Regions from separate parts of the Homo sapiens genome. Here regions 2, 3, 4, 5 and 6 are each linked to region 1. Evidence: promoter capture Hi-C in 16 types of primary human blood cells and fetal thymus (Javierre and others, 2016). All regions are on one chromosome and are shown on one strand. Each heading gives the region's core, a stretch centred on a gene start or on the middle of the fragment in contact. The rest is flanking DNA. Distances are from core to core; before and after follow the strand shown.

The links. Contacts are between HindIII fragments. The CHiCAGO score rates a contact against its expected background, and 5 or more counts as called.
Region 2: a contact is called between a fragment that was not itself captured here and the fragment with the promoter of CLDND1 in region 1, in 1 of 17 cell types (total B cells). The highest score is 8.0, in total B cells.
Region 3: a contact is called between a fragment that was not itself captured here and the fragment with the promoter of CLDND1 in region 1, in 2 of 17 cell types (naive B cells and total B cells). The highest score is 6.6, in naive B cells.
Region 4: a contact is called between a fragment that was not itself captured here and the fragment with the promoter of CLDND1 in region 1, in 1 of 17 cell types (total CD8 T cells). The highest score is 5.2, in total CD8 T cells.
Region 5: a fragment that was not itself captured here is called in contact with the fragment with the promoter of CLDND1 in region 1 in 3 of 17 cell types (fetal thymus, naive B cells and total CD4 T cells); the score reaches 10.9 in fetal thymus.
Region 6: a contact is called between the fragment with the promoter of PCNP here and the fragment with the promoter of CLDND1 in region 1, in 5 of 17 cell types (total B cells, naive CD8 T cells, fetal thymus and 2 more). The highest score is 17.2, in total B cells.

Annotation. Positions count from the first base shown.
Region 1 is chr3:98,521,208-98,524,666 of GRCh38, reverse strand. It overlaps CLDND1 (claudin domain containing 1), which reads left to right and starts at 1,765. Exons shown (of 5, transcript NM_001040181.2): 1 at 1,765-1,818; 2 at 3,225-3,459. The coding sequence starts at 3,243. It overlaps CLDND1-AS1 (CLDND1 antisense RNA 1), which reads right to left and starts at 2,097. Exons shown (of 2, transcript NR_198998.1): 1 at 1,834-2,097. RefSeq lists an enhancer at 187-316 and silencers at 1,519-2,158, 2,209-2,318. The HindIII fragment of the contact is 2,905 bases long and covers 1-2,582 here.
Region 2 is chr3:94,048,965-94,052,423 of GRCh38, reverse strand. It overlaps ARL13B (ARF like GTPase 13B), which reads right to left. Exons shown (of 10, transcript NM_001174150.2): 8 at 2,902-3,018; 9 at 1,532-1,600. Among named protein-coding and RNA genes, the nearest start is that of DHFR2, 12 kb to the left of the region's middle. The HindIII fragment of the contact is 629 bases long and covers 1,434-2,062 here.
Region 3 is chr3:94,069,226-94,072,684 of GRCh38, reverse strand. All of the region lies in intron 2 of NSUN3 (NOP2/Sun RNA methyltransferase 3), which reads right to left. Among named protein-coding and RNA genes, the nearest start is that of NSUN3, 7.9 kb to the right of the region's middle. The HindIII fragment of the contact is 1,800 bases long and covers 818-2,617 here.
Region 4 is chr3:101,728,684-101,732,142 of GRCh38, reverse strand. CEP97 (centrosomal protein 97) reads right to left here. Exons shown (of 11, transcript NM_024548.4): 4 at 3,206-3,307; 5 at 190-303. Among named protein-coding and RNA genes, the nearest start is that of CEP97, 5.8 kb to the right of the region's middle. The HindIII fragment of the contact is 5,493 bases long and covers 1-3,459 here.
Region 5 is chr3:101,671,653-101,675,111 of GRCh38, reverse strand. It overlaps ZBTB11 (zinc finger and BTB domain containing 11), which reads left to right. Exons shown (of 11, transcript NM_014415.4): 2 at 2,899-3,134. Among named protein-coding and RNA genes, the nearest start is that of ZBTB11-AS1, 3.0 kb to the left of the region's middle. RefSeq lists an enhancer at 736-1,236. The HindIII fragment of the contact is 3,726 bases long and covers 1-3,459 here.
Region 6 is chr3:101,572,402-101,575,860 of GRCh38, reverse strand. It overlaps PCNP (PEST proteolytic signal containing nuclear protein), which reads right to left and starts at 1,681. Exons shown (of 5, transcript NM_020357.3): 1 at 1,582-1,681. The coding sequence starts at 1,645. RefSeq lists enhancers at 1,162-1,321, 1,342-1,501, 1,582-1,711, 1,812-2,081, 1,525-2,470. The HindIII fragment of the contact is 5,212 bases long and covers 1-3,459 here.

The DNA of each region.
Region 1 (3,459 bases), core at 516-3,015:
CTTTAAACTTCTCTTTTGCCTGGTTTACTGACCACATGATCTCAGTGGAGAGGTAAATCTGAAAGTGGGGAATTTCTTTTTTTGAGGCAGAGTCTTGTTCTGTCGCCCAGGCTGGAGTGCAGTGGCGTGATCTTGGCTCACTGCAAGCTCCGCCTCCCGGGTTCATGCCATTCTCCTGCCTCAGCCTCCCAAGTAGCTGGGACCACAAGCGCCTACCAACACGCCTGGCTAATTTTTTTGTATTTTTAGTAGAGACGGGGTTTCACCGTGTTAGCCAGGATGGTCTCGATCTCCCGACCTCGTGATCTGCCGCCTCGGCCTCCCAAAGTGCTGGGATTACAGGCGTGAGCCACCATGCCCGGCGGAAAATAGGGGATTTCTAATGAAGGCCAATGGATGAAGACATTTCCTGGAGTATAAGGGCATTTATGTGTCTTACTACACATTGACAATTTGCCTGTGCCTCTCCATCACTTTCTCTAGTTGGTGCCTCTGACAAATTTTTTTTTGATTATATGCTGTATATGAAAATCCAGAGTCATGTTTGAATATATTTGGCTACTACCTTATTATGTGCTGCATATGAATATCAGTTTCACCCACTCAGGTCAAAGAAATGTAAGTACAGATAGAGAAACATATCATGCCTTTAATCTGTCAAAGTGGTAGAAATTTAATATCAACTTGCAGCTCCCATCTTTCTCCTATGCTAAATTACAAGGCATTAGGGGACAGAGTGGGGGTTTGAGAGCCCCTCTGGTCCTTGAGTCAGCTTTCTCTGTCGGTTACTGTTGAGAAATCCACCATTTGCTGGTCCCAGGCCACGTTAATAGTTCCACTCATGTTATTGTTAAGATGTCCCTGCTTCCTGTCCATGAATTTCTGTGTTAAACCTGAGGGTTCAGAATCATTGTTGCCCCTGTGCCACACATCATCTGCAATCTCCAATGCTGTCCATGACCTTATCTGCTTGAGTGATGTTCCCCAAATTTCAGTCTTTTTCCTACTATACCCACAATTTTTTATTCATTTTTTGACATATCTGGTATCCTCAGTATTATTAACTTAATAGTTTTTAAAATAAGTGAAAAGAATTTAAAAGGAACAACATTGCTGCAATAGAAAACTAGTATCACTTGTCATAAAAAGAAGGCAGCTACAAACACATTTTATGAAACCCAAATAATATCATTACATTCTTGATGGATACTGTCTGCCAGGTCACATACTTCTTAGCCTAAACTTATGCAATAAAACCAGAAGGATGCTCTGCTCCAATGGGAGGGATTCTGGGAGAGGGAAATAAAATGGGTCAACGTTTCACAAGTAGAATCCCATTTTTGTTCATTTATACTTAGATCTAGAGGCAGGGTGGTGTGATAGGGAAAGCACAGGCCTAAAAGTCAGATCTAAGTTATACAAGTCACGGTCATTGACTCGAGATGACCGGAAACAGGCCCGCTTTACTTTCTGGACCATTCTCCCTTCCTCCCTAAAATGCAAGAATCCAACAGCCTAGACTTCCCTTCTGCGTACCGGCTTGCCCTGAGGAGCTGAACTACATCTCCCACAATGCGCCGCGCGCGGCGCCAGGAATGCCTATCGCCGCCTCAGACAGCTTTCAGTCTGTCCCTCCTACAACTCCCACAAGGCCCCTCGGCCCCGGGCCGCGGCCCGGCCCGGAGTGGGGGCGGGCGGAGGCGCGGGAGTTATGGAGGGGGCGGGCTCTGCAGGGAAGTGCGTCAGAGGAGGCGCGGGGAGAGTAGGGTGCTGTGGTCTGAGCTAGAGGGTGAAGCTGGCGGAGCAGGAGGATGGGCGGTGAGTGAGCGGGACCTGCGTCGCCGGGCAGGGGTCGCGTCGCGGTTCCATGTTCCCGGCGGTTTGAAGAGGGGCCCCCTTCCCGGGCGTGGTCGGGCTGGGCGGGTTCCGAGCGGCGGATTTGTCCCAGGGCCGAGCCCTCTAGGGCGGGGCCTGGTCGGGTACCGGGGGACCCTGGCCCGGGGCCGAGCACGGCTGCCCCGCCCCAGCCCTGGCCTTCTCCGGCCCCGCCGTGAGGCCCAGGAGGTGGCTGCTGCAGGCGTCCGGCTTGGACGAACCGCCGTTCCCAGTGCTGGGACCCTTTAAGGTCATTTGAGAGCACCAGGATGAAGGGGGGATTTTTAAAAAATCAAAATACAAATCCAACTTTTTGAGTTTTCGTTGTCATTGCTCTTATCTTTCCTGAGTCACTTCCCATTTTCCAAACTCAGCAACCCCAGTTTGCGAGTCTGTTTTCATGAACCTTTGTAAGGTGTTTGGTGCGGTCACGGTGTATACTTGCCGTGTAGTATTTGACTCAGCGCGATCTGCCTTGAGTCATTTTACCGCGGCCATTTACTACTGCCGTTGAGCCCTGTCCACGCCTTGGGAGTGTTGATATGTTGAGAGTTTTCTGTCTGGCTGAGGAGGGATCATTTAGTTTTTGCGGACGTATGTTGCACTGAGGATTTAGGGAGAGAGCAAGATTTCTGTTGAGGAGGTTCAGAAGTATAAGGAATCGGGAGAGTAGATAGGAGTGAAGCATTTGGCAGCGTAAAGAAGCTTGGCTTAGCTTTAATGGATTAGGGAGAGATTGCTATCTAGCATTATTACATGTTATTGTTCTCTTTGCTATTTTATACACCTAGAACAACCTTTCCCTCGGGGTTAACAAACATCTTCAACTCTGTTTTCTGTATGGCTCCTGACTCTTACCTTTGTTTTAGGAGGCTTCCCTCTTCAGAGGAAACTGGGAGAAGCCAATTTCCACTGCTTCTTTTTCCTGTGCCTTTTTAACACTCAAACCCAGAACACTTAATCCTCTGCAGCTCGTGCAAAAATTCAGTCTGTAATTTAAAATGTGTGCACGGTACACTGCTGACCATGGGCATGTCTATTGTTTGTATCTGTAATGTGTATGTCCATTTCAGTGTTGTCTGTTTTAGTATGCAGGTGATAGACTAGAGAACAAGACCTCTGTCTCCGTAGCATCCTGGGTATGTGAGCATTCAATAAGTACTTTTATGAGAATGAGTTTTGTTTTAAGCTTAATTAAAAACATGCTTGCTTTCTAAAAAAAATTCTTAATGGTTATATGTACGAAGGGATGGGGAATTGGGTAAAGGGTGCATTTGGAATAATTCAAAATAATCTTTCTTATTTGTCCGTAAACTCTAACTTATCTTCTTTCTTCAACTTCTAAACAGAGCAGTCTGAATGCCAGAATGGATAACCGTTTTGCTACAGCATTTGTAATTGCTTGTGTGCTTAGCCTCATTTCCACCATCTACATGGCAGCCTCCATTGGCACAGACTTCTGGTATGAATATCGAAGTCCAGTTCAAGAAAATTCCAGTGATTTGAATAAAAGCATCTGGGATGAATTCATTAGTGATGAGGCAGATGAAAAGACTTATAATGATGCACTTTTTCGATACAATG
Region 2 (3,459 bases), core at 499-2,998, 4.5 Mb after region 1:
TGCCCATGTACACAGTACTCCTACTGTGCACAGTACTCCAACTGTACACCATAGAACTCATTGTCATATATTCTACAGTAAGCTGAAGAATTGTCCTCTCTGTATAGTAGAATCCTCACAAAGGCAGAATGTACATCTTATTCATCTTGTTATTACCAATGTTTTAACAAACAAAATACTTGTATGTTAAATGAGTTCAACAGAAAAAATATGTCATATGAAAAATTGGTATTTTTTCTTCATATGTATGTGTGTACATATAAATATACACAGTAACATTAGTTTTCTAACAACATAGTGAATATTTATATTGACAATGTATTCTAACGTACACAAGTTCACTAAGAGTTGTGTAATAAAGAAATAAATCTACTGTAGTCAATATAAACATCACGATGTCAAGTCAGTAAACTAAACAGAGAGATGAGATTTCACTGAAAATACCACTTCAGTAATTCTGATGGAGTCTAAGGACAAACTTTTCTGTCTTTAAAAAAAAAAAAATTCATGAATTTTCACTAACGATTATCAAGAAATATTTCAATACTGACCTAAATAGAATTCTGGGGGAAAAAAGCAAATAGCACATTTATATTTAAGTACCTTTTAAACAAAAATATTTAAACTGGTTTGATATAATTTCAAATTATATGGTAATGCTTTTCTAAAGAGTAAACTTCTGAGTTTTTTCCTAGTAAGTGAAACCAAGTTCTAGACTAGGTAAACACAGAGCTGTCCAAAAAGGAATTGGATGTTCTTAACAAACAAGTTTATTGAACTACATTTATCTATAATTCTTTTGCATTCTAGAAATATTTTACTGAAGGGACCTAGACTGATGGTCTGTAATCAGAACTTCTCCTTGTTTTATAAGGCAGTTCTCTACTTCTCCTAAATATCCTTCCTCTAGTTTTTGCATCCTAGAATTCTAATGCCATAAACTATCTAGACTATAGCGTATGTTATATTCAAAGAAAACTGTTCTCTTAATTCAATAAAAATGTTAGTAACTTTCTACTTAGTCGAACTTTATTAGGTTTACTGATTTGATCTCTGATTTTATAAACTGTGTTGATCTTTACTTCACTTTAATGTTCAGCAGCTGGTTGTCTTATTAGGAGTAGAGAGAAAAAATTATGTGCCATTATCATTGAGTATATTGAGCATATACAGGAAACTACAGCTTTTAACACTTAAGTTATAAATTCTAATGTCTCATAGTTAAATTATTTTAAAACATTTCCTTTTTATTATAACTCCTTGTATAAATATATCATGGATAATAAACACAAGCTATGATTCTTTTTACCTCTGTATTCTAAGGTAAACACCAAATTAAATGATATAGATGTAAAGCATACTTAAGAATAAAAAATTAAATAAAATGAAAAAAGACGTATAATGAAAAAGGATAGCTGTGGATTTGACAAGCTTCTAAAACTAAAACATAAGTTTGTTGAAATTATAAGGCTAAAGAAAAGTGAATGTGACATGTACAGATGATATCTGAAAACCAATCCTTTTGCATTACCATTATGATGTGTTTCACCAAGAGGCTCAAGTTTTGGAAGTCTAGTGACTTTAGGGGTTCCCCAGCCAACTAAAGAAAAAGAAAAACATTTAAAAAACACTGTTAAACAAGGTTTCTTTAGGTCTGTTGAGAGGATCCCTCCCTGGAAAGGAAGCATATGTAACATTCAATGTCAATTCAAATATATTGAATGACAGTATGGAAAGCCAGAAACCCATTTTAAATGGCTTCTATATTTTAAAATGTAATTATAGGCTGCTAACATCTGCTTTAACTTTTCAGTAGCTTTTAATAAAAACTATAAGCACCTTCACCACTATCAAAAACAAACTCATGCTATCATTCTAACTCTAGGCAGAAACTAAATATTTTCTTAATAAATGGAATACTGGAAATGAGTCTATAAGAGATTCTTAAAATGTTACCAAATAATTTCTAAAGCCTTGTAGCAGGGCTATAAGGGCACTATACACATATTTATCTAGTCATTACATATTTACTGACCACCTATAGTAGGTGAGGTGCTAAGCTTAGTGCTGAAAAGTTACTCAAAATTATTGTGCAAGTTAAGTCCCAGTGTTTTATATGCATTACTCCATTTAATCCTCGTAACAACTTAGGACATGGGTATGTATATTGAAAATGTATTAGAAAAAATTAATACATCTTGGTTTCAAACATTAACTTTCAGGATGAAAGGTCCAATTTTTTTTTTTTTTTTTTTTTCCCGAGATGGAGTCTCACCCTGTCACCCAGGCTGGAGTGCAATGGAGTGATCTTGGCTCACTGCAACTTCTCCATCCCAGGTTCAAGCGATTCTCCTGCCCCAGCCTCCTGAGTAGCTGGGATTACAGGCATGTGCTACTACGCCCAGCTAATTTTTTTTTTTTTTTTTTGTATCTTTAGTAGAGACGGGGTTTCACCAAGTTGGCCAGGTTGATCTCGAACTCTTCACCTGGTTATCTGCCCGCCTCGGCCTCACAAAGTGCTGGGATTACAGGTGTCAGCCACCATGCCGAGCCGGTTCAATGTTTTAAAAACTCATGTTAGCCATCCATCGTGAAACTTAAATTAACATGTGGGTACTGATATTTCAAATAGAACTTGAACATATTCTAGGAAATACTGGGTAAAATTTTCTTAATAGTTTTTACTTATTTTTTTCTTTATAAAACATTTTTTTATTCAAAAAAGCAATGGACATTTGTGTTAGCAAATTTTGTCCAAATCAGAGTAAAAGATTCTTCTTCACAAGTATACAAGATAATGAATATACAGAATAAAAATGACAAGATTCCTTTTTTCTTTTTTTTTTTCTCTGTTGTTTAAAGCAATATTTCTAAATTCAGTATCAGTATCAATTTACTCACCAGGAGGAGGGGGTGGGGGTGGCGTTGGACTCTCAGGAGCACAGTCATCTATATTAAGTGGTTCTACCCGGTGGTTCCTTTTCATTCTTAGTTTCTTAGTTTTCTTTTTACCATTAGCTACAAGAATATAAACATGAAACTTCATGTCTTTATGAAAAAGTGCACTTTTATAATAGAAAACAAAGAATACAACAAGAATACTGATATTATTAACAAAAAACATCTTGACTATTTAACTTTGGAAATTGTTACAATAACCAAATGTGTACTTGCATTTACTAAGAATATATTTTTTAAGTGATGGCTTATTGAATGAATGAATGAGCAATGAATATGATAAAAAGAGCCAAAATTCTATATTTTAATTTCTGAGAGGTTTTTCAGAATACAAAAAAATGTCATATGACACAAATATAATTGTCTAATTGCAAGAGTTTCCATGAACTTCATAATAATCTGGGAAAAGAAGCTATTCATTATTGTGTCACTCAGTATATTTGATTTTTCTCAGTGGGATATGTAGAATGATTCCAGGTATAAATAGCCCAAATATAATCC
Region 3 (3,459 bases), core at 468-2,967, 4.5 Mb after region 1:
TACACCCAACCCTACTGAACTATACAGATTTCTTCTAACAAGTTTCTTTAAAATTTACTGATCTCCACATGCCCGGCCCCCAACCTCCCTGAATAACCTTTCCTCTCTCACCTATCTGTTCTCAACTTAGGGAGTTTTCTCTCTCCAACGAAGTCTTTCCACTTACCACCCGGTTCACATCCTCCACCATACTCTGATATCATTATTAATAAATGTTACTGACTGGATGTGTACAATGTTCATTTTGCATGTTTATATCATAGAACCATCACAACAACCTTGAGAGAGGCAGCTCTTACTCCTATTTTAGAGGTTAACTGAGGCTTTTAGAGATTTTGGCAACTTACCTGAGGTCACATTGCTAGTACGCAGAAGTATCTGATTCAAAATCAGACTGACTTTAAAGTCTAACAGAAGTGATTCCCAACGTGTGAGACCCTGGTACTACAGCACAGAGCTACAAAAGGGGGCAAGAAAGAGAATTTTACCCCAACCCTCACTTAGTGCAAGTGGCCATGACCTCCCTGAAACCCTCTTCTGTCTAACAATGAAATCAGCTTGCCACATCCTGCCTATAGAAGCAGCTGCAACAGACCAACTCTTGAAGGGACTGCTAAGGCTGCTCAGGCTGGTGCTTCCTAGCCCTGAGAAAGCAAAGCTGTGTATTAATATGATTCTTACAGTTCCCCTTGCACACACCTGCCACTGACCTCCATTCTCCTCCCCACAACACACACACATACAACCCCTCCTGTGCCTGCACTGGGTGGGTTGCTAACCTGGGGCTGGAGGGAAAGTGGCTTCCGAATCCAAAGCTTTTATGGATGGGCAAGTAGCTTAGCAGGCAGTAGAGGGAATGTATGTTAGATGACTCTAGAAAACAGCGGCCAGGTGCCACACTCCAGGCCTTTTCCCAAGATTCACAGTTAGTCTGAAGCGGCTCCATTTACTGGTCTTCCAGGTGAGAAGAAGTGCAAGTACCTCAGTAGCCAGCAGAACTGGAGACATACAAGGTCAGTGACCTGCAAATTTGCTAGTGCACCACTGATATCATTTTGAAAAAAAACACATTTTAAGTTGACATTAAAATCTCACCATATGTTTAAAGGATGCAATTTCCAGCATACTGTAAAAATTGACATTTTAAAATACAAATTATACTGCCTTTAGTATGTGCCCAGTGGAAACTAAATATCATAATGATTTTGATACCCATCATCATCCATTTAAAAATTCATAGACTGACTCATCTTTAACAGGTGGAAATTTTATGCTGCTCGTTTTCCTCTTTTATTTACATTCTACTTCATATAACTTCATCTTAATATATTTTCATGCTTGAAATCTTTTTATCACCCTATCATGCTTCTCTAGCCCCCACATATACACATGTGTATGTACTAAATTTGTTTTTCCTGTGGTCTTAAATCTCTAAGTGTTAAAATGGTAACTTCTGGATTCAGGGATCAATAATATTATTAGTACAAAACCGATCAAAACAACTTATAAAAGTAAAAATTGGTAAGAAATGGATACTTAATGAAATGAGCTTTTGTTTCCATATATCCATAAATGAATATTACTTCTTACTATAATAAAATCAGTCAGGATTCAACATCATTTTTATGCCTATTTTGTGTTTTTTATAAAAGCTGAGAAAAACCTTCAGTTAAATAAGTGGATGAGAATTAAATATATTTTGTTATAGCAATGTTTCTTACTTTGAATTCTTTTGGAGTTATATCCCCAAATCACTTAGCAACCTATCATCAAAAATGTCTTAAATGAATTGATAGCTGACATCTCAATCAAGGCTCCTTTACTTTTGTTGAAAGCAAAACTTGGAAACCACCTGACTTGTCAGAGAATCTGTTAGTCATTTGCTTTCTCACACTGACACTCCAATAGTTTCTGGCATATGGAGGTTTTGAATACCTGGAGGAACATAGCATAGAAGCCAGAATGGTGCAAGTGTGCCTTTCTTTTTGTGAAAAGGGTGAAGGGAAATTGGAGAAAGGCAGGTTGGGAAAGGAGAATATGTGCCCCCTTATGTACAGAGGGGCAGAGTAATTTTCTGAAAGAGAATACATGAAAGTTGAGGATGTGAAAACTGACTGCGGTCACTTGCCTGAGCCTACATACCCCCTTGAAAAGTCTTTCTATTTCTCACTCATTGTTGCTCCTCCCTCCAACATGCTAAGTCTGTTTTGTCTTCTTTTTTTTAGAGACAAGGTCTCACTCTGTCACCCAGGCTGGCGTACAGCTGTGCGATCATGGCTCAGTGAAGCCTCGACCTCCTGGACTCAAGCGATCCTCCTACCTCAGTCTCCCAAGTAGTTGCGCCTACAGGCACGCACCACCACACCCAGCTAATTGCTTATTTTTTCTAGAGATGAGGTCTTGCTATATTGCCCATGCTGGTCTTGAACTCTTGTCCTCAAGCAATCTTCCCGCCCTCAAGCAAATCTCCTGCCTTGGCCTCCCAAAGTGCTGGAATTACAGGTGTGAGCCATCGTATATTATCTTCTTGTCAACATTCATTCATTCTCTAAAAATACACCGTCTGTCAACTATAGGCTAGGCACATCTATTTACTGATAATGATATAAAATAAGCTTAAATTCCTAAGAAACAAAAGAAAAATAAATTCCTAAGAAACAAAAGAAAAATTCCTAAGAAACAAAAGAAAAATATTAAAACTGACCAAAAAAAAATTAAGTAAAACTAGACAGATGGTACACAAGAATAACTGAATTTTGAGAAACAGTTAATGAAGCTAAACTAATATATCACACTGTGTGTCACCCTGCCTGCTTACCCATTTCCCTAACTCATTTATATGGGAGCCTTGACTTATTTTTCTCCTTGGCTAAGTGCCTGGGGCCTAAATCCTGGAGTAAATGAATAAAATTGGAGTTCTGATTCAAGGCTCTCTGAACTACTTACTATTTTAACAAAATTAAAGCATTAAAAAATTAAAAGCTAGTTAAGTTAAAATTTTGCAAAACTGTATAATGTATCATTTCGATAATGTTTATTATTTGATAGTATAATTTTCATTCAACTTTTCTGTGACTTTATTCTTTTTTCCTACTACTCTACTCTCCACCCTACCTTCCGTCCTAGTGACGAAGATGAAAAATATCATTTAATCTAGAAATTGTTAAACACAATTAATATAACCCTGTAGATTACAGAACCTATTTAAATTTCCATAGCTAAAAAAGAGAAATTCCTTGATTTAGTGCTATTATTATCCACTAGAGGGTGCTCATTCAACTCTTTTAAAAGTTAGAAATGAAAAACAAATCAATTTATGGAAATGCACCAAAGTATGTTTTTGAGTCATTTTATTTTTACTCCTCAGAGATGCTAACGAAGAGCTGATGGCTTCCTATTCTATTTTGGCAATGGATCTTCCTTGTATCTCACAGAAGGGCAATTTATGTCCAGATTTGT
Region 4 (3,459 bases), core at 338-2,837, 3.2 Mb before region 1:
CAAAGGAAATTAGACCTTAATGACCCACTGACACTAAGGAAAAGTGGAAAGATCTAGAGCCAAGCATTTCATATGAATGGCAGTTTCTTCCAAGATGCTCACAGTCTAAAAGTAAGCTCACAACCCTCTCCTGTGTCTTTCCTAGGATTTCCAGCTTCCTGAATCTCACAAAATACCCTCAAATTTTACCTCATTTAAGTCTCGGATTTCATTTTCTGCCAAAGAAAGTATAGCAAGACTTCTGGGTAGGTAAGCAGGTGCCATTCTAAGAGAGGTGATGATGTTTCCATGTAAAAGCAGGGTCTTGAAAGTAAAAACAGTATGAATTACAAATGAAAAGATTACAAATAAATTGGCCTATTGTGACAACACCAAAATGGTACATATAAGAATAAAGGAATCTACTTTATTATATTTCTCATCACACACAAATCAAAGACTGTTAATGCTACAAGGGTCCTTGATGATCTTCTGGTCCAACTCTCTGTTTTCATACCAACATCCTAAGCTCATGATATTTTAAAGACTTGTCCAAAAACACATGCTTGGCATAGCAACTAGGCATGCTGTGAGATTTAACTTATGAGACACTGAGCAATTTCTAACACACTTTTTCATTTTCTTTTAAAATATCAAAATAGAGGCCATGTGTGGTGGCTCATGCCTGTAATCCCAGCATTTTGGGAGGCCAAGGAGGGAAGATTGCTTGAGCCCAGGAGTTTGAGACCGGCCTGGGCAACATAGTGAGACCTGGTCTCTACTAAAAATCAAAAAATTAGCCAGGCATGATGAGGTGCACCTGTATTTCCAGCTACTGGGGAGGCTGAGGTAGGGGGATCACTTGAGCCCAGGAGGTCGAGGCTATAGTAAGCCATGACTGCACCACTGCACTCGAGCCTGGGTGACAGCAAGACTCTGATGTCTCAAATTAAAAAAAAAAAAAAAAAAAAGTCATTAAAACAACCACATATAAAGCAAATTTTCCAAAAAAGAGAGTGATAACCTACATCCATAATTGCAACTGTATTCTCTAGGTAACTAAAAAATAAAGGGAGGTAGAATGTGTTACTTGCAGATAAAGCTGACTCACATTAAGTCAGCAACAACCAAGAATAAACCCAAAACTGAACACCCAGGATTCTGATCAGATAAATAGGCTTCTATTCCAGCAAAAAAAAAAAAAAAAATTCAATCATCTTTGGTTCATTTGAATTCTCTTAGCATCTATTAGGACAACATCTGGCTACATCAAAATGTTTAGAATAATTATTGCTAAAAATGATTTCTGCTAAAGATCTGGGAAAAAGTGAACTAAGATACTGCTTCTAGGGCTTAATGAACATATCTGATGGTAATAATATCCAATGAGGCAACAATATTTAAAATGTTCTACATGTTTTTCAAGACTGTGATTTCAACTGTTACTTATTTGACTGCATGATACATTCCCCTCCATAAAAAGTGCTACATGCTACATGTTTTTTTCTAAGTGAAATTAATTTTGACAATTAGCTAATACCTATTACTTTAAAAACAGCAATTCTGAATGTCAAAAAAAAAAAAAAAAATCCAGACTTGGGACCCAGCGCAGTGGCTCATGCCTGTAATCCCAACACTTTGGGAGGCCGAGGCGGGTGGATCACAAGGTCAGGAGTTCGAGACCAGCCTGGCCAACATGATGAAATGCCATCTCTACTAAAAATACAAAAATTAGCTGGGCGTGGTGGCATGCACCTGTAGTCCCAGCTACTCAGGAGGCTGAGGCAGGAGAATCGCTTGAACCTGGGAGGCAGAGGTTGCAGTGAGCCGAGATTGCGCCACTGCACTCCAGCCTGGGCAACAGAGCAAAACTCCGTCTCAACAAAACAAAACAAAACAAAACAAAACAAAACAAAACAAAACAAAACAAAAAAACAGACTCGGCCAGTTCGGTGGCTCATGCCTGTAATCCTAGCACTTTGAGAGACTGAGGCAGGAGGACTGCTAGAGTCCAGGAGTTTGAGACCAGTCTAGACAACATAGTAAGATCTCATCTCTGGCCAGGTGCAGTGGCTCACGCTTGTAATCCCAACACTTTGCGAGGCCAAGGCAGGAGGATCATGTGAGGTCAGGAGTTCAAAATCAGCCTGGCCAACGTGGTGAAATCCTGTCTCTACTAAAAATACAAAAAATTAGCCAGGTGTGGTGGTGGGCGCCTATAATCCCAGCTACGCGGGACGCTGAGGCAGAAGTATCACTTGAACACAGGAGGCAGAGGTTGCAGTGAGCCAAGATTGCACCACTGCAACCACTGCTTGGGTTGCAGTGAGCCAAGATTGCACCACTGCTTGGGTGACAGAGCAGAACTCTATCTAAAAAAAAAAAAGAAAAGAAAAAGATCTCATCTCTACAAACACTCAAAAAATTAGCTGGGTGTGGTGATGTACACATGCCTATGGTCCTAGCTACTTGGGAGGCTAAGGTGAGAGGATCACTTGAGCCTGGGAGGTCGAGTGAGATTGTACTACTACACTCTAGCCTGGGTGACAGAGCAAGACTCTGTCTCAAAAAAAAATAAAGACAGACTCAAATTCAGGAATGATTAATCTCAACCTCACCAAAGATTATGTACTATATAATAACTGAAGTTACTAATATTGGTTGATTGGGCATACAGGGAATTCCATCATGTTCAGAGAATGGTAAATAAAATTAACCTTAACTACAATGACCAGTTTCACATCAAATAAATGAGTTATATAACTAACAACAAAAAGTTTCAAACTTAATTTCTGGTATTCTAACATAATTCCTTTTTTTTTTTTTGAGACTGAGTCTCACTCTATTGCCCAGGCTAGAGTGCAGTGACCCAATCTCGGGTCACCACAACCTCCACCTCCTGGGTTCAACCAATCCTGCTTTAGCTGAGTAGCTGGGACTACAGGCTCGCACCACTATGCCCCACTAATTTTTGGTATTTTTAGTAGAGATGGGGCTTTGCCATGTTGCCCAGGCTAGTCTTGAACTTCTGAGCTCAAGCCATCCACTCGCCTCAGCCTCTCAAAGTGCTGGGATTACAGGCATGACCCACCATGCCCAGCCCATAATTCTTATCATAAAGAAAGCAATCTGCTCATACAAAGCAGGCTAATTTTAGGTCAGTAAGATTACTTTCTCTTGGTATTTTGCTATAAAACTTCACAAATGACAAAGAAAACATACTTACTTTCAGGGATACCAATTTAGATAGATCACCTATCTGGGATATATTATTGTCTGATAAATCGAGATGCTGTAGAGCTGTGCAGCTATTGATCTGTTCCATGGCCTATCACAAGAAAAGCATCACACTATTTAATGAAAACAAAATCAAAAAATAAAATTATTCCCTAGTTCTTTGCAGCTGAAAGAGTGTCTTCCCTCCTCTTATTATTAGAAGCAGAGTAGAAGAACTTAGCAAGAGAAAAGGGGCAGTACTAA
Region 5 (3,459 bases), core at 579-3,078, 3.2 Mb before region 1:
TTATTTAACCTTCATAAAACCTTAATACTTATCTCCCTTTTTTGGAGACAGAGCGTAGGGGGTCTTGCTTGGTGCAGTGACAACGATCACAGCTCACTGTAGCCTCGACCTCCTAGGCTCAGATGATCCTCCCTTTTCAGCCTCTATCTGTTTTACAGATGAAAAAACTAAAAGCACTAGGATGTTAAATAACACAACAAAAGTCACACAGCTGACCTTTGTGATCTCACACTTTTCTTAACCCAGTGTTATGTGGTATTTTGTGTTCAGAATTTTTCTTTTTCTAAGTTCATTATCTGTGAGTGATTCTAATCCAGTTGTTTTTTTTTTAATTTTTAGTGTGCAGTGTCTTAAAAGGCAAAAACCTGAGACGATGTTTATTTATTTATTTATTTATTTTATTTATTTATTTATTGAGACAGAGTCACTCTGTTGCCCAGGCTGGAGTGCAGTGGCGCGATATCGGCTCACTGCAACTCCACCTCCCGGGTTCAAGCGATTCTGGTGCCTCAGTCTCCAGAGTAGCTGGGATTACACCACGCCCAGCTAATTTTTCTATTTTTAGTAGCGACGGGGTTTCACCATGTTGGCCAGGCTGGGCTCGAACTCCTGAGCTCAGATGATCTGCTCACCTCGACCTCCCAAAGCGCTGGGATTACGGGTGTAAGCCACAGCGCCCGGCCAATACAACCTCTTTTGGTCTCTAAATCTACACTCATATAAATGCTTTTTTGATAAAGTTATATTTAACTCGAACCCATTGTTCCTTTCTTTCTTTTCTTCTCTTTTTTTCTTTGAGACAGAGTCTTGTTCTGTCACCCAGGCCGGAGCACAGTGGCGCGATCTCGGCTCACTGCAGCCTTCGCCTCCCAGGCTCACGTGATTCTGGTGCCTCAGCCTCCGGAGTAGCTGGGACTACAGGCGCGTGCCTCCACACCTAGCTAATTTTTGTTTTGCTCTGTTGGCCAGGCTTGTCTCGAACTTCTTACCTCAAATGATCCGCCCACCTCAGCCTCCCAAAGTGTGTGAGCCACGCCCCAAGCCCCATTGTTTATGTTCTGCAAAAAAAAAAAAAAACAGTCTCTGTGAATCCATAAATTTGACAAATTCCTAGGTTAAACAGGTTTCTTCACCGTAGAAGTCAGAGGTTCTAATAATAAATGTCAATTGCATATAGCTAAAATTTTTCTGAATTTATGACTTCAGTGTATACTTTTATAATCAGTGTGGGACATAATACAATTTGGAAAATATTGCTTGAATACTATTTGAAGATTGAAAGTATAAGGAACTTGGTGGCCAGGCAAGGTGGCTCATGCCCGTCATCCCAGCACTTTGGGAGGCCAAGGCGGGCAGATCACTTGAGGTCAGGAGTTTGAGACCAGCCTGGCAAAAATAGTGAAACCCCATCTCTACTAAAAATACAAAAAATTAGCCAGGTGTGGTGGCGGGCGCCTGTAATCCCAGCTACTCGGGAGGCTGAGGTGGGAGTATCACTTGAACCCAGGAGGCGGAGGTTGCAGTGAGCCGGGATCCCACCACTGCACTCCAGCCTGGGCAACAGAGAGAGACTCCATTTCAAAAAAAAAAAAGTGTAAGGAGCTTTGTATAATTCGACATTTTAAAACACTTTTCAGGAATATTCTCTATACCATACCTCTATCATTTTACCTCATAACCTTTTCATTTGTACTTATTTGAAGATTTGGGGGTAACTTTCTGCCCTAGGAATGGACAAGCGTGCTCTTGTGTAAGTAGAATAATATACCGAAAATCCCATGACTTCTGGAGGCCTAGCTCTGCCATTTTACTAGATGTGACTTTGGACAAGCTACATACCTCTTAGGGCTTTATTTTCCTCTTGTATAGAATGGGAATTAATTGTTCTCTTACAAGGATGATAGTGGGATGTGTGTACATATACATAAAGCCTTGTCCCTGCCTCCTCACCCCTACCCTAGCATGCTGGGAGCTGGAAGTTGAAATTCAAAATCTTTTGTGAGTGGCTTGTATATAATCAACTTTTGTTAGATTGTGTATGCTTTTATTTCACACAACCCTAAAATCTCATAACTTTCAAAAACAAAAGATTTATTTTAAACTTTCATTACAAGTTTTGTAGTAGTCCTGTTCCAGGCTACAGATTGGTTTCAGCTTTTTTCATCTGAAATTCAGGTTTAAGAACAACATCCCTCTGGGACATTGCTGTTCTTTGTGAGAGGGGACAAAGATCAGAGAACTGGTGCAAAATACTCAGTACCTCTTAAGGTTCTGTTCAGATATGGTACACATCACATGTGTGCAAATCAAATCACACGGTCAAGCCTAATGTCACTGGGGTGGAGAAGTATTAGCTTGAGCCATATTAAATTGTTAATTTGTTTGGTTTTGTTTTGAGACAGAGTCTTGGTCTGTTGCCCAGGCTGGAGTGCAGTGGCACAATCTCAGCTCACTGCAACCTCCGCCTCCCGGGTTATTAGTGAGTCTCCGGCCTCAGCCTCCAGAGTAGCTGGGATTACAGGCGTGCGCCATCATGCCCTAAATTGTTAATTTGTGTAGGTCAAAAAAAGGTGAATATTGGCAGTTTCATATAGTTCCTCTTGCATGAAAACATTGCAACTCACATGAAAATGGGTGGAGCTATATAGTCATCTTATGATTAGAGAAACAAATAACTGGGAATAAATAAAAAAAATTACCTCAGCAGGAGAACATCATTTATAACTTTATATTTTTTGGGAAAAAAGTATATTTTACATTCTAATAAACTCTACATATTTTATGGGACATGAATGTCTGCACATATGTACTGAAATGTGTTAATGTGCACAGACTAAATAATATATTCTGTTTTCAGTTAACAGTATTAAATTTGACTTGTTAATATTTTCATTGTAGGTATATTGAAGCAAGTCAAAGATTACATTAAACAGTGTAGCAAATGCCAGGAGAAACTAGATCGATCCCGTCCAATATCAGATGTTTCAGAAATGTTGGAAGAATTGGGACTAGACCTTGAATCTGGAGAAGAAAGTAATGAATCGGAAGATGACCTGAGCAACTTTACTTCATCTCCAACTACAGCATCCAAGCCTGCAAAAAAGAAGCCAGTATCCAAACATGAACTTGTGTTTGTAAGTGGTACTCTCCAGTCAGCTTTAAGATTTGTAACTAGTGTACTAGTATTTGCAGCCTTGGTGACTTATTTTTCTCAAACCACTAAGACTGCTTATTGAATAAGACAAAATGGCAGTGTACTGTGTTATATAAGCTGAACTGCCTCTTCATTTATCATAAATGTTCCTGTTATTTTTTCAGAATGAACTTAATAATTACCTGTTGGTTTGTTGTTAATTATCCTCCCTCCCTTCTTTTGTGATGATATATTGGTACAAGTAGACAGATTTACATTTCTGGAAGCAGTCTCTGAGTTTACGCCCCAAGGTAAAATTAATCTGG
Region 6 (3,459 bases), core at 432-2,931, 3.1 Mb before region 1:
CATGCTAAAATGGAAACATCAATATTCATACTATAGAACTAATAACCCTCAACTGAAAGAATGGCAGGTAAATTATACAGTGGATTTATAATGACACTCAAGGTACATTTTGACAGCACATTAAACACGTCTGCTACCCTCGGTCAAGACAGTTAACGAGATGGCCTTAAAATCAACACATGATTCTTTAGGCTTTTCCTCAAACTACGTCTAAAATTTTTTGCTTTTCCTCAAACTACTTTTAAACTTTTATGTAATTTTATCCCACAATTTCCAATACAATTTTTTTGGGAAAAAAAATTCCCTAGTGAGAAAGTAGTAGATGGTTTAAATTTAAATTGTTCTTTCATAAGGTATTTTACTAGTTATAAAAAAAAAAAAAGACAGGGGGTGGGGAGGGAAGAGAGAGATGGAGTTCCAGCTTAACTAACAGAATTGTACGTGTTTTTTAAAAAGGAAATCCTGGGTCCAAAGTAATTAACATTACACTTAATCTTTTCAATAATTTTTGTTCCCAAGGCAATTAACATGAAACATTATGTTAGTAGGTCTACTAGTGGCCTTCATATGCTATTAATCGTTTCTATTTTCTCATATTAAATAATTTCGGGAATGATAACTAAGGTGGTCAGAATAGAGAATAATGTTTAAAATGTTCTAAAAACATTTTAAACAGCTCGCACGTGTTAAGTCACTTGTCTTGTTATGTGCAAAGAGGGAGCTGGAGAGATTACGTTTCTTTTCCTTCACGCACAAGACCCGAATTTAGGGAGTGGAATGGACAGAATAAGGATAGCTGTAACCTGAGTTTAACGTCGTAACAAAATACAGGAAGAGTCACGCTAGACTATTTAGTCGCCTAAGTATCTGGCAAGCGGTCAGCTGGCAACAGCCTAAGGGAGATACTTCAAAGAAAAGCAACCAAACCTTAGCCCTAGACCCCGCAGCTTAAACCAGAGGGCAGGCAAAGGCATTCCTCTTCCCCTCCATCACCTCGGCCCATCCTGTCACAGGGTCAATATTAAACTTGGAAGTAAAGGAAAGAGAGCAGGCCGGAGTTGTCCACCTCCTCAGTGAAAAGGGAGCAGCAAGCGTAATTAACTCCTGCGTGTAACTGAGAGGCCGGCACCGTCAGAAACTCAGCCTGCGGCCAGTTCCCGCGGCAACTACTCGGTGGCTCGCACTGTGTGTATGTTATGTCTCATGAGCGTCTCCGGTGTGTGTGTTTTGTGTGATGTGCGTCTCCGGTGTGGCGGTAGCGGCTCCTGCACCGCCGCTCCTGGTCCCACCCCGAGTTCGGTCTCCCTTTCTGGCGCCCATCTCCCTTCTCCTCGGAATCAGGGCCTCCGCTGGGGCCAGGAGGTGACGAACAGTGGCCGGCTCTCCCCAGGCAAGGAGGCGATGTAGGCCCGGAGCCCAGAGGGCCGCATCGGGCGTGCCCGAGGCAGGTCTGGGCCCAACACCTGGCCGGGTGAGGTCCAGATCCGCCCATTCTCGCCCCACCCCACTCCCCCCACCCTGGGAGCTCAAAGAAAGGCCCGGAGCATCCCACGCTGCCCACGACGCTGGGGTTGTGTTCACCTCCGGCGGCTCCAGCTCGCTGCGACTTTTCAGGCTTCTCGTCTCCCGCCTTCCCGTCCGCCATTTTCCCCGCCGCGGCCTCCCCTGCAGCCACGCCAAGGACGTCACGACCCCGCCCAACAACCATCGAGTTTTTGGGGCCAGCCGGCGTGGTGGCAGCCTAGAGCGGTCCCGAGGAATGAAAAGAGGCCGCCTTCGGAAGCGGAAGTGGATGTGATGTCATCGAGTAGCCGCCTCGGAAGGAAGAGCTGGGAAGGTTGGGCGGTCTAAGAGTGCTGGCTAGGCACTTTATTAGAGGGCAGTCAGGTCTTCATGGTCTAGCGACAGGTCCGGAGAAGTGAGGGGAAATGGAGCATCTCCCTGGAAACGCTGGGATCTTAGAAGGTTTCTGCATACCCAGATGTGGTTGCAGCTGAGGCTGAGAGTGTCTTCCGTTCCGGCCTTGCTGGATAACGCATGCCTGCCAACTCTATGTAAACAAAAAGCCTGCATTCTTTTTCCCTAAAGGGGAAATCAGTGTTTATCTAGCGCCCCCTAGCTTCAGACGCCTTTCATACACTCGTTTAATCACGGCGATTGTCCAAATATAGAATTCTCCTCTCAATTACCTGTAAGAGTTGAGGTCAGAGAGAGTAATTTGTCTAAGTCACGTAGCCAACTGTAAAGTTACTTTTTGTATAGTCTGCTTCTACCAAGTTGAGAAACTACTATGTCAAGTTAAGACTGCAGTAATTTCTGCCTTAATAAGAAACCTTTAGTGGATTCCTACAGTCTGCATTCTGAAGTCCGTGAGTTACATTAGGCCCTAGCCTACCTTTTCGGCTTCATCTTCCCCCTTTCTCAGTATTTATCCAGCCCTCCTAGCCAAATGGGGTCTATTACTTGCTTAGGGAACTGGAGTTTCTGGGTTTGTCTTACCATATATAGTTAGAGAAAGTCTTAGGAGTCAGAACTTGGATTTGAATCTGTTTTGCCCTTTCCTGCTTGAGTAACCTTGAGACTTGCTTACTGCCTACAGAGCTACCTTTTCTTCTCTATAAAAGAGCAATAATAATAGTACCTCCTCAAAGAGTGGTAATAGGGATCAAATGAGATCATCTTTGTATACCATTATTTGGTCACTTCATACTTCCCTCAGTTTGTGTGTGTGTGTGTGTGTGTGTGTGTTTTAAGTGTTGTCTCTCTGAATGGCTCAAAAGTTCCTTGACAACAGAGACCAGTTTTTAAAAACTGTGTACTGTGCGTTTCATATATGAATATAAAAAGTGTTCAATATTTGCGGATGGATTACTTCTCGGGCTTCAAGTCCAGGGAGTGGAGAAAGAATGAAGAAATTATCAAAGTGTGTTTCCCATGACAGAAGCAGGGCAGTGTGGTGGTGATTTTGTGATCTAGGTTGAAGTCCCTGATCCATCATTTATCATATATGTAAAAGTAACCAGCAAACTATCTTACAGGTACTTAATTCATGTTTGTTTCATTTTCCTTGTGATCTTTTCAAGGTAATCATTGAGACTCTCGTTTCTATCATTTTAAAAATGGAGATATACACGAAGATTTTTATTTGAGATTATGTATTTACAGATGCTTGTAATTTTTTATGGGGGGTGGAATGGAGTCTCTCATTCTGTCACCCAGGCTGGAGTGCAATGGCATGGTCTTGGCTCACTGCAACCTCCGCCTCCTGGGTTCAAGCGATTCTCCTGCCTCAGCCTCTCGAGTAGCTGGGACAACAGGCGCGTGCCACCACACCCGGCTAATGTTTGTATTTTTAGTAGAGACGGGGTTTCACTATGTTGGCCAGGCTGGTCTCGAACTCCTGACTTTGTGATCCGCCCACCTTAGCCTCCCTAAGTGCTGGGATTACAGGCGTGAGCC